Linked DNA regions of Homo sapiens: all the other regions are linked to region 2. Evidence: promoter capture Hi-C in 16 types of primary human blood cells and fetal thymus (Javierre and others, 2016). All regions are on one chromosome and are shown on one strand. The core of a region is centred on a gene start or on the middle of the fragment in contact, and the rest is flanking DNA. Distances in the headings are between cores, read along the strand shown.

What was found. The method cuts DNA at HindIII sites, captures the fragments that hold promoters and counts their contacts. A CHiCAGO score of 5 or more calls a contact.
Region 1: the fragment with the promoter of ACBD3-AS1 here is called in contact with a fragment that was not itself captured in region 2 in 1 of 17 cell types (naive B cells); the score reaches 5.7 in naive B cells.
Region 3: the fragment with the promoter of PARP1 here is called in contact with a fragment that was not itself captured in region 2 in 3 of 17 cell types (total B cells, naive B cells and monocytes); the score reaches 6.2 in total B cells.

The regions. Positions count from the first base shown.
Region 1 is chr1:226,146,568-226,149,866 of GRCh38, forward strand. It overlaps ACBD3-AS1 (ACBD3 antisense RNA 1), which reads left to right and starts at 1,436. Exons shown (of 2, transcript NR_146443.1): 1 at 1,436-1,501. ACBD3 (acyl-CoA binding domain containing 3) reads right to left here. Exons shown (of 8, transcript NM_022735.4): 8 at 1-254. The coding sequence ends at 43. It also overlaps the pseudogene LOC124904586. The HindIII fragment of the contact is 12,330 bases long and covers 1-2,336 here.
Region 2 is chr1:225,444,241-225,448,008 of GRCh38, forward strand. LINC02765 (long intergenic non-protein coding RNA 2765) reads right to left here. Exons shown (of 3, transcript NR_187303.1): 3 at 3,764-3,768. Among named protein-coding and RNA genes, the nearest start is that of LBR, 18 kb to the left of the region's middle. RefSeq lists enhancers at 396-465, 966-1,015, 1,911-2,471, 2,472-3,032, 3,033-3,592 and a cis regulatory region at 570-1,109. The HindIII fragment of the contact is 1,300 bases long and covers 876-2,175 here.
Region 3 is chr1:226,405,921-226,409,649 of GRCh38, forward strand. PARP1 (poly(ADP-ribose) polymerase 1) reads right to left here and starts at 2,173. Exons shown (of 23, transcript NM_001618.4): 1 at 1,890-2,173. The coding sequence starts at 2,009. RefSeq lists enhancers at 738-797, 2,388-2,517, 2,696-2,840, silencers at 1,748-1,847, 2,098-2,357 and a cis regulatory region at 2,768. The HindIII fragment of the contact is 6,506 bases long and covers 1,023-3,729 here.

The DNA.
Region 1 (3,299 bases), core at 186-2,685, 700 kb after region 2:
TCTTCTGCCCAACCCTAGACTCCAGACTTTGTAACAACATTTTTATCTAGTATAATAGACTCTGTAGTAGACTGATTTTGACCGCCACAAAGAGTAGGAGTTGTCAAACTTGAGGAGATAGACTCCTCTCCCTGGATATTGATGGCTGCCAGCATACACCTCCTCATGACAGTCCCGTCGGTACACAGGCACAATCTCATCCAGCAAAGGCTTGTTGGCATTCTTTTTGGCTTTCTCTTCACAACCGATGTTTTCTGTAAGAACAGAGACAAGTCAATGAACAGATTCAGGAAAACCACACTTGCATCAGGCAATTAAAATCTATCCTTTCTTTTTTTTCTGGAGACAGAGTCTTGCTCTGTCACCCAGGATGGAGTGCAGCGGCGTGATCTCAGCTCATTGCAACCTCCACCTCCTGGGTGCAAGCGATTCTCCTGCCTCAGCTTCCCAAGTAGCTGGGATTACAGGCGTGCACCACTACATCCAGGTAATTTTTGTATTTTTAGTAGACATGGACTTTCACCATGTTGGCCAGGATTGTCTCAATCTCCTGACCTTGTGACCCACCTGCCTCGGCCTCCCAAAGTGCTGGGATTACAGGCGTGAGCCACCGTGCCCAGCCTATCCTTTCTTTGAGAAACTGCTCTTGTTGGGAATTCTGTTGAACCATTTAACAAGTTATGTGCATGTGAGCATTTATTAGTTCGTTCATTCATTCATTCATTCACTCATTCATTCAAATACCTAAGTATGTGCTATACACCAAACCCTGTTCTGAGCCCTGGGAGCCCAGTGATGAACATCTAGTGGTAGCAGTGGTCAGCATCCTATCTCTTTCTGTGCTTACTACCATTCCTATTTCAAGGTCCCATTTTCCCCTTTCCATAGCCATTCAATTCCTAATTCATCCTCAGGAATTTCACTCATCTGAGTAACATGAAAATGTTGCTCTCATCATCCTCCTTCTGACCAATATGAGTCCTCCCCATTTTAGAAAGATGGAAGATGATTTGTGAGGACTATTGCTTTCTGTATATCTTAAATATAAGCAGTAAAATGAAAAAATCATAGTAGAGAGATAGGCATTCAGAGATACTCTGAAAATTCAATTATTTTCACTAGGCCAATTTAACCCAGAGATGATCTAAGTGGCAAAAAATGGGCTCTGAAAGGTTTGCCCCGGTTAAGAGTTTTTTGAACTGTAATGCTATGAGGTTAGGAAAAAAAATGCCTCTAGAAACCTACAGGAATGAGAAAATTATGAACCAGCTTCGAAGTCACAGTTTAACATATTTAATACAAACCAGCTCAAAGAGGTCAAGGGAGTATTCAGCACAGAAGACAAGACTTTCGGGTTTATGGTTGTTGTTTTTGTTTGTTTGTTTGTTTAAGAGACTGGGACTACAGGCATGGATTTTCAGGTTTATAACATGGCAGAGTGAATTCTGGCAACACACTGAGTGATGCTTGTCAATGGCCACTATCAGGAATTTAAAACAAGGTAAGTTTGAGAAATTCTCACCGTCTATAGCAGATTAAGGAGATATGATGACTGACTATAATGTGGCATCCTGGAAAGGATCTTGGAACATTAGGTAAAAACTAAAAACATCTGAATAAATATGGACTTTAGTTAATTAATGAATCAATGTATCAATATTGTTTCATTAGCTGTGATGAGTGCACCACAGTACAATGTAAGATGCTAACAACAGAGGGAACTTGGTGCAGGGTATATGGGTACTCTTTGTGCTATCTTTGTAACTTTTCTGTAAATCTAAAACTATTCTAAAATTAAAAGTTTATTTTAAAAAAGCAGATGGCACTCTTATAAAGGTAGGTCAAAACCAGATTTACTTAACCACAGAAATACCTATAATTAAGCATGTTTCACATGCAAATGAGAAATACAGAACCATCCAAAATGTACACTATTGTTGACATCCAAGAAATAGACTGGTCCATTGATTCAAGACTCAAATTTTGTTTTAAATCTATAAAACTAAAGATTACTGGGATAGATGAAAAGGCATCTTTTATGAATTTAAGCCAAGGTTTAGGACCTGTAAACAATGAAGAAAATGGAGAATTAAAACAGGAGGATGTGTTACCATCCATGCTTCTTCAGAGAAAGCAAACTCCTCTGTCTACCTTTCAAGACCTAAGGAAGAAAAACCAAACCAAAACCCAAAAAACTCAGACTCTTCTACCATATGAAATACAAGACACGGTAGGACAGTAGCTTCTAAGGCATATGGACAAATACAATTTGTGAGCTAAATCTTTAAATGGGATGAAGTGACGCTCATGTAATGAACAATTCTTAGGAATGATAAAGCTTCACTGCTGTGAGGCTAAAATGTTTTAGCTGCAAATCATTTTATGATTAGGAATGGTACAAGTACAGGGAATGCCATCTTTCATTTGAGGGACATATTAGAACTAAGATCAAGGATATTAAGGTTCTTACCTCTAGAAATGAACCCCTGCCATTTTCACTAGTGATCTTCCCAACACCAATATAACCCCAAAACTATCATCAGCTGAGGGTTCAGACTAGGCAGTAACCACCTTTTAGAAGCTCTCTAATAGGCAAGCCAGGAGAAATACATTACCTCAACCAACTTCTGAACAGAGAATTCTTATTCACAAAGCTCTTTCATTTTTTTTTTTTTTTGAGACGGAGTCTGGCTCTGTCGCCCAGGCTGGAGTGCAATGGCACGATCTCAGCTCACTGCAATCTCCACCTCCCGGGTTCAAGCGATTCTCCTGCCTCAGTCTCCCAAGTAGCTGGGATTACAGGCATGTGCCACCATGCCTGGCTAATTTTTGTACTTTTAGTAGAGATGGGGTTTCACCATGTTGGCCAGGCTGGTCTTGAACTCCTGACCTCAGGTGATTCACCCACCTCAGGCTCCCAAAGTGCTGGGATTACAGGTGTCAGCCACTGCGCCCAGCCATCTTTTTTTTTTTTTTTTTTTTTTTTTTTTTGAGATGGGGTCTGGCTCTGTGGCCCAGGCTGGAGTGAAGTGACTTGATCTCAGCTCACTGCAACCTCTACCTCCTGGGCTCAAGCAATTTTCCCACCTCAGCCTCCCAAGTAGCTGGGACTACAGGTGCACACCATCACACCCAGCTAGTTTTTTGTATTTTTGGTAGAGACAGGGTTTCATCATGTTGCCCAGGCTGGTCTTGAACTCCTGAGCTCTAGCAATCCATCCGCTTTGGCCTCCCAAAGTGCTGAGATTACAGGCAGGGGCCACCGTGCCTGGCCTCACAAAGCTCTTTGTAAGTACAGT
Region 2 (3,768 bases), core at 276-2,775:
CATTTTTTTTTCTCCCCCGAGACAGGGTCTTGCTCTGTCACCCATGCTGGAGTGCAGTGGTGTGATAGCTCACTGCAGCCTCAAACTCCCCCAGCTCAAGCAATCCTCCCACCTCAGCCTCCCAAGTAGCTGAGACTACAGGCATAAGCCACCACACCTAGCCAGAAAAACTCTTTCTTTCTTTCTTTCTTTTTTTTTGAGATGGAGTCTTGCTCTGTCACCCAGGCTGGAGTGCAGTGGCTCGATCTTGGCTCACTGCAATCTCTGCCTCTCAGGTTCAAGCAATTCTCCTGCCTCAGCCTCCCAAGTAGCTGGGATTACAGGCATGCGCCATCACGCCCAACTAATTTTTGTATTTTTAGTAGAGATGGGGTTTCACCATGTTGGCCAGGCTGGCCTCGAACTCCTGACCTCAGGTGATCTACCAGCCTTGGCCTCCCAAAGTGCTGGGATTACAGGCGTGAGCCACCGCACCCGTGCCAGAAAAGCTTTTTTCTTAATAGCTCCCCTGGGAACCTCAGTTCTACCACCGAAGGTATACAATCACTCCAACAGATAACAAATCGACATTGTCGTGCATAAATGTAGAGCTGATCCGTATTTCATGTCAAAGGCCTGGACTGTGTGAAATTGGCTGGTATTTGTTCCAGAAGCACTTGTTCATGTTGAAGATGGGGCAGTTCTGAGTGGGTTAGCAGGCTGACGAGCTTGGCTCAGAAGCCGCTCACTATTGTTTGGGCTTTGCTTTTGACTTCACATCCTGAAATAAATGGTCGTTGCAGACCAGGCACGTGAGCAGGAAGTGGGCAGGGCTTAAAACACAGAGAAGTCATAACCTCTGCGGTTTGGTTCATGTTGTAATATGAAAACCAGGAAGCTTATCTTGCAGGAGGCTGATGTGTAAAAGTTCAGAATGGAGTGGAGCCCTCCCTCTTGGCACCCTATGCGCGGAGTCACCCTTTGTCTGCCACAGGAAGCACCCAGGTCCTGGCAGCTAGAAAACTGTAACAACTTGGAAACATTTCCCAAAATGTCATCATGGCATCAAAATGAGACAATCAATTTCTTGCAAAATTGTTTGCAAGAATACAATTTGATCAAAAGTAGAGTTAGACTTTTTTTTTTTTAAGACAGTTTCGATCTTGTTACCTAGGCTAGAGTGCAATGGTGATCTCTGCTTACTGCAACCTCTGCCTGCCAGGTTCAAGCGATTCTCTGCCTCAGCCTCCTGAATAGCTGGGACTACAGGTGTGCGCCACCATGCCCAGCTAATTTTTGTATTTTTAGTAGAGACGGGGTTTCACCATGTTGGCCAGGCTGGTCTGAAACTCCTGACCTCAGATGACCTGCCTGCCTCGGCCTCCCAAAGTGCTGGATTGTAAGCGTGAGCCACTACGCCCAGCCGAGTTAGACTTTCTCTAAGAACAGCCCCTCTGTGTGTTTTAACTTAAGTGAGAAACAACATGGGTGAGTCAGTGGTTGAAGGCAAGAGAGACACGGGAGAGACACTGATGCCCTGTCCATCCCTTCTCTGGGCCTCAGGGCATTCCAGCAGGTAGAGAACTCCACCCTCCTGCCTGCCTATCAGTCTGCTTGGTCTTGAAAGTCTGCTGCACAGAGTGGGTAGTGGCCATCTGAATCAGTGCTAACACAAAAGCTAGACAGCAATGCTTACAGGCTAGCCAGGAAAATGTTTTTACCAGAAAATTGCTTGAGAAGAGAACACAGAGTTTCAGTAGGGACATGACGATTGAGGATGGAAATGCTTGGTGAAGCAGAACATCCTGGCGTAGCCACAAGAAAACACAATAACCTTAAGGCAGTCACTCGAAGGCATCCTGGAGCCCCAGGCAGGGAGCATTTCACTTCACCAAGGCGTCTGGGGCCATCAAGTGGGAGAAAAAACTGAAGCCTAAAGCTCCTGCTACTGCTCTCTGAGCTCCCAGATCCCTGTACCTGACACCTGCCACACCTGGCTCGGCAGGTAACTAAGACTGGAAGAACCAGATGAGGAGTGGCTCTGCCACACTTATTTGAGAAAATGTCTGAGTAGTATCTGTCCAGCTAGGTCTTCCTGAGTTTCCCATGGCTCTTAAAGATTAGACATCATTAACTGAGTTTCCCAGCAGCACACCTGCCTGAGGTAGATTACAGTGTGGACTATTCCCTGTGAGAAGCTTCCTGCAGCATAGCGCCAGGGAAGGGCTAACCAAGATCGTGTCTTTGCAAAACACCTTTCAGACTGCAGCACCCCCAGGGTGAACTTCAGAGTCACTTTGATCTCAATTAGCATTCTTGGATATTATAAACAAACACCTAGACTCCCAGGGAGGGGAAAATCAGTACCCCAGGAAAATCACAGGAGATGGAGTTCTCAGGGCTTTATCACAGGCTGGCCATCGAAAGCCACAGGGAGCCCTCAGGCTAGCCAGGGTCACATCTCACCTCTGCCCAGCCACCCCAGGTGTTTCCTAGAAGCCCCCCCTTTTCCCGCTTTGGCCTGCCTGGCTCTTTTTGGCTTCTGAAAACAAAGAGAGGAGCTGTGTGCAGTCAGCCTGAGACACGTGGGAAGATGGTTGCTGCCCCTGCTGGCCCTAAAGCTCCAGAAAGCCAATGCCACCGTGCAGGCGGTGGAGAGCATATTCTGATATGGGAGGAGGAGGCGTCCGCAGACCCCTAGTTCCTAACTTTGGGTCATGGCCAAGGGACCTCCTGGGGAAAACTGCGTGCTAGAGAGCCGGTGAGCATATCTTAAGTTAGGCCCAAAGGGGACTGGGTGGGTTTCTTCCTCCAGCACCCCTGCTCTTCCCAAGAGGAGCCCCTTTCCTTCCCTGAGCTTCCCCTTCCCAGGCTCCTGTTTTGACAGGATGCCTGGGTCTGATCACAGCCACAGGCCCGTTTTGGGCTGTGTTCCCCCTGGAGTGTATTGGCCAAGGAATTCCTGGAGCATTTGAAGAAAGGCCCCTTCCCAGGGGCAGTATTCCTCCTGTAATTAAAAGGTTGCATTTCAAAGACACTTTTAATGACCCCAACCGTTGTTGCCAGAAAGAAAATGCTACAGAAGACGTGACTGACAGATTGCAGGGAGAGTGTTCAGCCCAGTGCTGGTGCAGATCCCCGTGAGGACACAGGAGCAGGGGGTTTTGTCATCTTGAGGACCCATAGCTGACCGATGTTCATGCACGCAGGAGCATGTGTACCAGGCACCGGTCTAGTGGGAGAGTCAGAGGAGGTTGCAGCGGGCACAGAGTGGGCATGCTGTGATGGAGGCCAGGCGCCTGCAGGGGAGGACATCCTTATCTATGGGACCTGGCAGGTAGAGGGGAAGGCACTCCCTAGGGAAGGGCCAGAACAGACCTTAGAAGGGTGTATACTTGGGATTTAGATGAAGGAGAAACCTCCTTTCCTCTCACTTCCCTCTCTCCTTGTTCTTCCCTCCCCGAGGGCCCCTCCTAACCCACTCCACTGCACAGCCTGCAGCTTGGCCAGAGTTCCTTCCCTACCAGGACTCACTGTCTCGCTGGGGCCTTGAACCCTCTCCCCCCACCAAATAAGGTGCTGGTCTGGAGCTGAGCACACACCACAGTGGCCAGTTATGGTCAGTCTGTCACTCTGTTCCTTCTCATCCGAGAACTCAGAAAGCATTCACTGTCACTGGGCTGCGATCCCAGAACAGCCGCTATTCAAAACATCTTTATAAGGTCTGATTCTGCCTCTGCCTCACCCCAGCCCAGCAGAAGTCGACTTGGCTCTGGAAACATGATGGAT
Region 3 (3,729 bases), core at 923-3,422, 960 kb after region 2:
GCCTGGGCAACATAGTGAGACCCCATCTCAAAAAACAAAACAAACAAAAAGGCTCGAAAAGGAAACACTGAGATAATTATCAAAACATTTGAAAGGTAATTTGGGTACAGTAACCCGTGAGCTTTTAAGCATTAAATAACAAGATCTAGTACAGCCTCTAATAACTGTGATTTTTGTAGCAATGAGAGTAAATTATATTTTGAAAAACTTCCAACTGTAAAGTGATATGAAAATATCTGTAATTATCACTGGTGAAAAAAAAATAGGGACTGCTAATATGCCTTTGCTTTGCTGCTTACATTTATGATTAGAGGAAATAATTTTATCTAGAGGTTAGTGGAGATGGAGATATCAATTTTTTCTTATCTAAACTCATGGACCTCTTGCCTTCTACCTACCATCCCACAGACCCTGGGTTAAGAGCTCCTGCACCAGGAGTGAGAACTTCATAACAGGCTGCCTTGTATATTCAAAGTAAGTTCTAGGTTCCTTAGTGGGCAACAAGGCTCTTCAAATTGTAGGCCCTGTCTACTTCCCTATTCTCATCTTTCTGCTCCACTTCTGTGAATTAACGACTCCTAATCAAGCTTCCACCCTTAGCTGGGTCATCTCGGACTCCTAGGCACACAATGCCTAGAGCACAGCTCCATCAGGTGGCATCCATCCTCTCTTACGGTAACGTTTGTTTACCAGTCATTTCCCGTTTAACCAAACTGGAAATTCCCAAAGGTGGATTCTGTGTCCTTAAAACCTAACAGAGTGCTTAGAACTTAAAAAATGCCTACCAAATAAGCACTGTGTGCCACGTACTGACTTAGGTATGCCCCGAGGACACCAAGATGACAGGCATATTGTGAAATAAGATAACGGAAGTACACCTGGCACTTGGGTATCCACTCGGTAAATGTCGCCCTCCCTTGTACTAAGTACTGAAAATCCACTGAGGGATATCTGGTCATTCCTAAAACACATTACAGCTCATGGAAGGGAGGAAAATCAAGCTACCTTGACCATGAGCACTAAGCTTGGGTAATATGTTGGAAGCGAGGAGGAACAGGGCAGATGAGAACCAGAATTATTAATACAAAGGTAGACATCGGCAAACTGGAAGCTGGAGGCAGGAGCCCCTGGGAAATGACAGGGGCCTTCAAGCCCACCACCTCACAGAAGGCTCAGGAAACCTCAGAAGGGGATTCAATCTATCAAAAAGCCCACATGAGAAACCCCCCTGGAGCCACTCTTACTCAAACCAGACAGCTGCAAATGCACCAAGAGAACGCGTCTGTGAATCTGGAAAATTTGGGGAAAATGTTACTTTAAAGCACAAATTAGGCTCAAAGTGAATGTACTGTACAGAAATGACACCTTTCTGCATAGTTCTGCCTAATTAAAATAAAAAATGAGAGTGAGCGTTTAAATGACGTGTTGAAATGACTGCCAAAAATAGGTTTAACAAAAAAAAAAAAAACCCACATGTCAGTCGCCACCATCCATGTAGAACAAAAACCCTCCAGAACAAGATAGGTCAAAATCAGATTAGCTTAAAGAGACCATGTACAATTCCCCCCCAACCCCTGAGGCGAACGGCAGTAATAAAACACCGCCACCCAGAAAGGAGAAGAGAAGAGGCTCCTCGTTTTCACAAAGCGAAAGGCAACACCAGCTGCAGACTTTATTTCCCGGGCTTTTCCTGCAACATCAGCAAAACCTTCCGGAAGGGTCGGCCGGGCCGCTCGGGAGGAGGGGCGGCCGCGGCCCCATAGGCCCCAAGTGCCGCTCCGAGGGCCCGGGCCCGCTCGCTCCCTGGGCCCGCCCTCCCCCAGCCTTCCCGGACACAGTTAACCCGGGGCGCCGCGTCCCCGCCCCGCCGCCCGCACAGCGGCCCGCACCTGCACCATGATGGCCATCCGGAGCGAGTCCTTGGGGATGCTCTCGCTGCATTTCTTGCAAGAGGCGCGCCCGCTCTTGGCGTACTCGACTCGATAGAGCTTATCCGAAGACTCCGCCATCCTCCCCTAGCTGCCGCCAAAGCTCCGGAAGCCCGACGCCACGACCTAGAAACACGCTGCCGCCTCGCCGCCTCGCGTGCGCTCACCCAGCCGCAGGCGCCTGAGCGGCCAGAGCCGCCACCGAACACGCCGCACCGGCCACCGCCGTTCCCTGATAGATTGCTGATGCCTGGCCGCGGGAACGCCCACGGAACCCGCGTCCACGGGGCGGGGCCGGCGGCGCGCGCGCCCCCTGCCGGCCGGGGGGCGGAGTTTCCCGGGCGCCTGCCGGGTGGAGCTCTGCGGGCCGCTGCCCTGGGGGCCGAGGCGGGGCTTGGGCTGAGCTAGTAGCTCTTTGGAGGACCCGGCGCCACCCCTTTGATTGTTCTGTCCCAGGAAGTCTTACTTGATTTCACAACTAATTTTACCCCCAACCCCTCCCCCTTTTATTTTTGAGACTGAGTCTCACCGCGCTGGAGTGCAGTGCCGCCATCATGGCTCACTGCAGTCTGGAACTCCTGAGCCCAGCGATCCTCCCACCTCAGCCTCCCGAGTAGCTGGGACTACAGGCGCTCACCACAACTGGCTAATTAAAAAAAAATTTTTTTTAGGGACAGGGTCTCGCCAAGTTGGCTAGACTGGTCTCAAACTCCTGCTACAAGTGATCTTCACGCCTCAGCCTCCCGAAGTGCTGGGATCAGGGGCATGAGCTACCACGCCGGCCCCAAACTCTTAAGTGTGTCCTCTCTCCCCTGAGGGCAGCTGGGTCCGGGAAGCGCAGGCCCCCGCCTCGGGAATATAGTTGATTGGCCCGAGGTGGACCCTGCAGTGCTAGGTCCACCCTCCTGGCTTGGACGGGCGTTCTAACCTGCCGTCCACAGACCGTCGGGACAAAATACCAACTGAAACCTAGCATTTCCTTTATTATGAATTTGACTACAAATACCAGGAGTATTAGCAGTACCTGTGACTTTGTGGGCAATAGTCATCACAGACGTTTTCATGTTACTTTACAGTTGTTGGTGATAACTCGAAATATTATTAAGCTCATCACTACTCGAAATTGTGGTAATGACTGCACCTGTTGCTATCAGATATTTTGTGTGTGTGTGTGTGTGTGTGTGTAAAGAAAGAGATGGGGAATCTCTCCATGTTGCCCAGGCTGGTCTTGAACCCCTGGCCTCAAGCAATCCTCCCACCTCGACTTCCCAAATTGCTGGGATTACAGGCATGAGCCACTGCACCTGGCCTAGATCTTGTTGTTTAATATAGAACTATACTTCAAAATATAGTTTATTAAAATTGGTTTCTTTTCTAATCCTATGCATTTTTTTTTTTCATTTCAAAGATTGTAACATGAGTGTGCTTTATTTGAAAATATTCAATTCTGGTATAGAGGATAAGAAAAATAAGCAGATGAATAAAACTCATAAAAAGTGTTAACCATAGAGAAGAAGCTAGTGGCTTAAGAGACAAGGATGTTGAGTAAGCAAGAAGGTTGTGAGACATAGGCCGAATCCTAAAAGTTAGTAACCAGTTAGATACGTTGAAGGTAGGCTGGGCACAGTGGCTCATGCCTATAATCCTAGCACTTTGGGAGGCTGAGGTGGCCGGATCCCTTGAGCCCAGGAGTTCAAGACCAGCCTGGACAACATGGCAAAACCTTGTCTCTACAAAAATTAGCTGGGGGTGGTGGCAGGTGCCTGTAGTCCCATCTACTCGGGAGGCTGAAGTGGGAGGA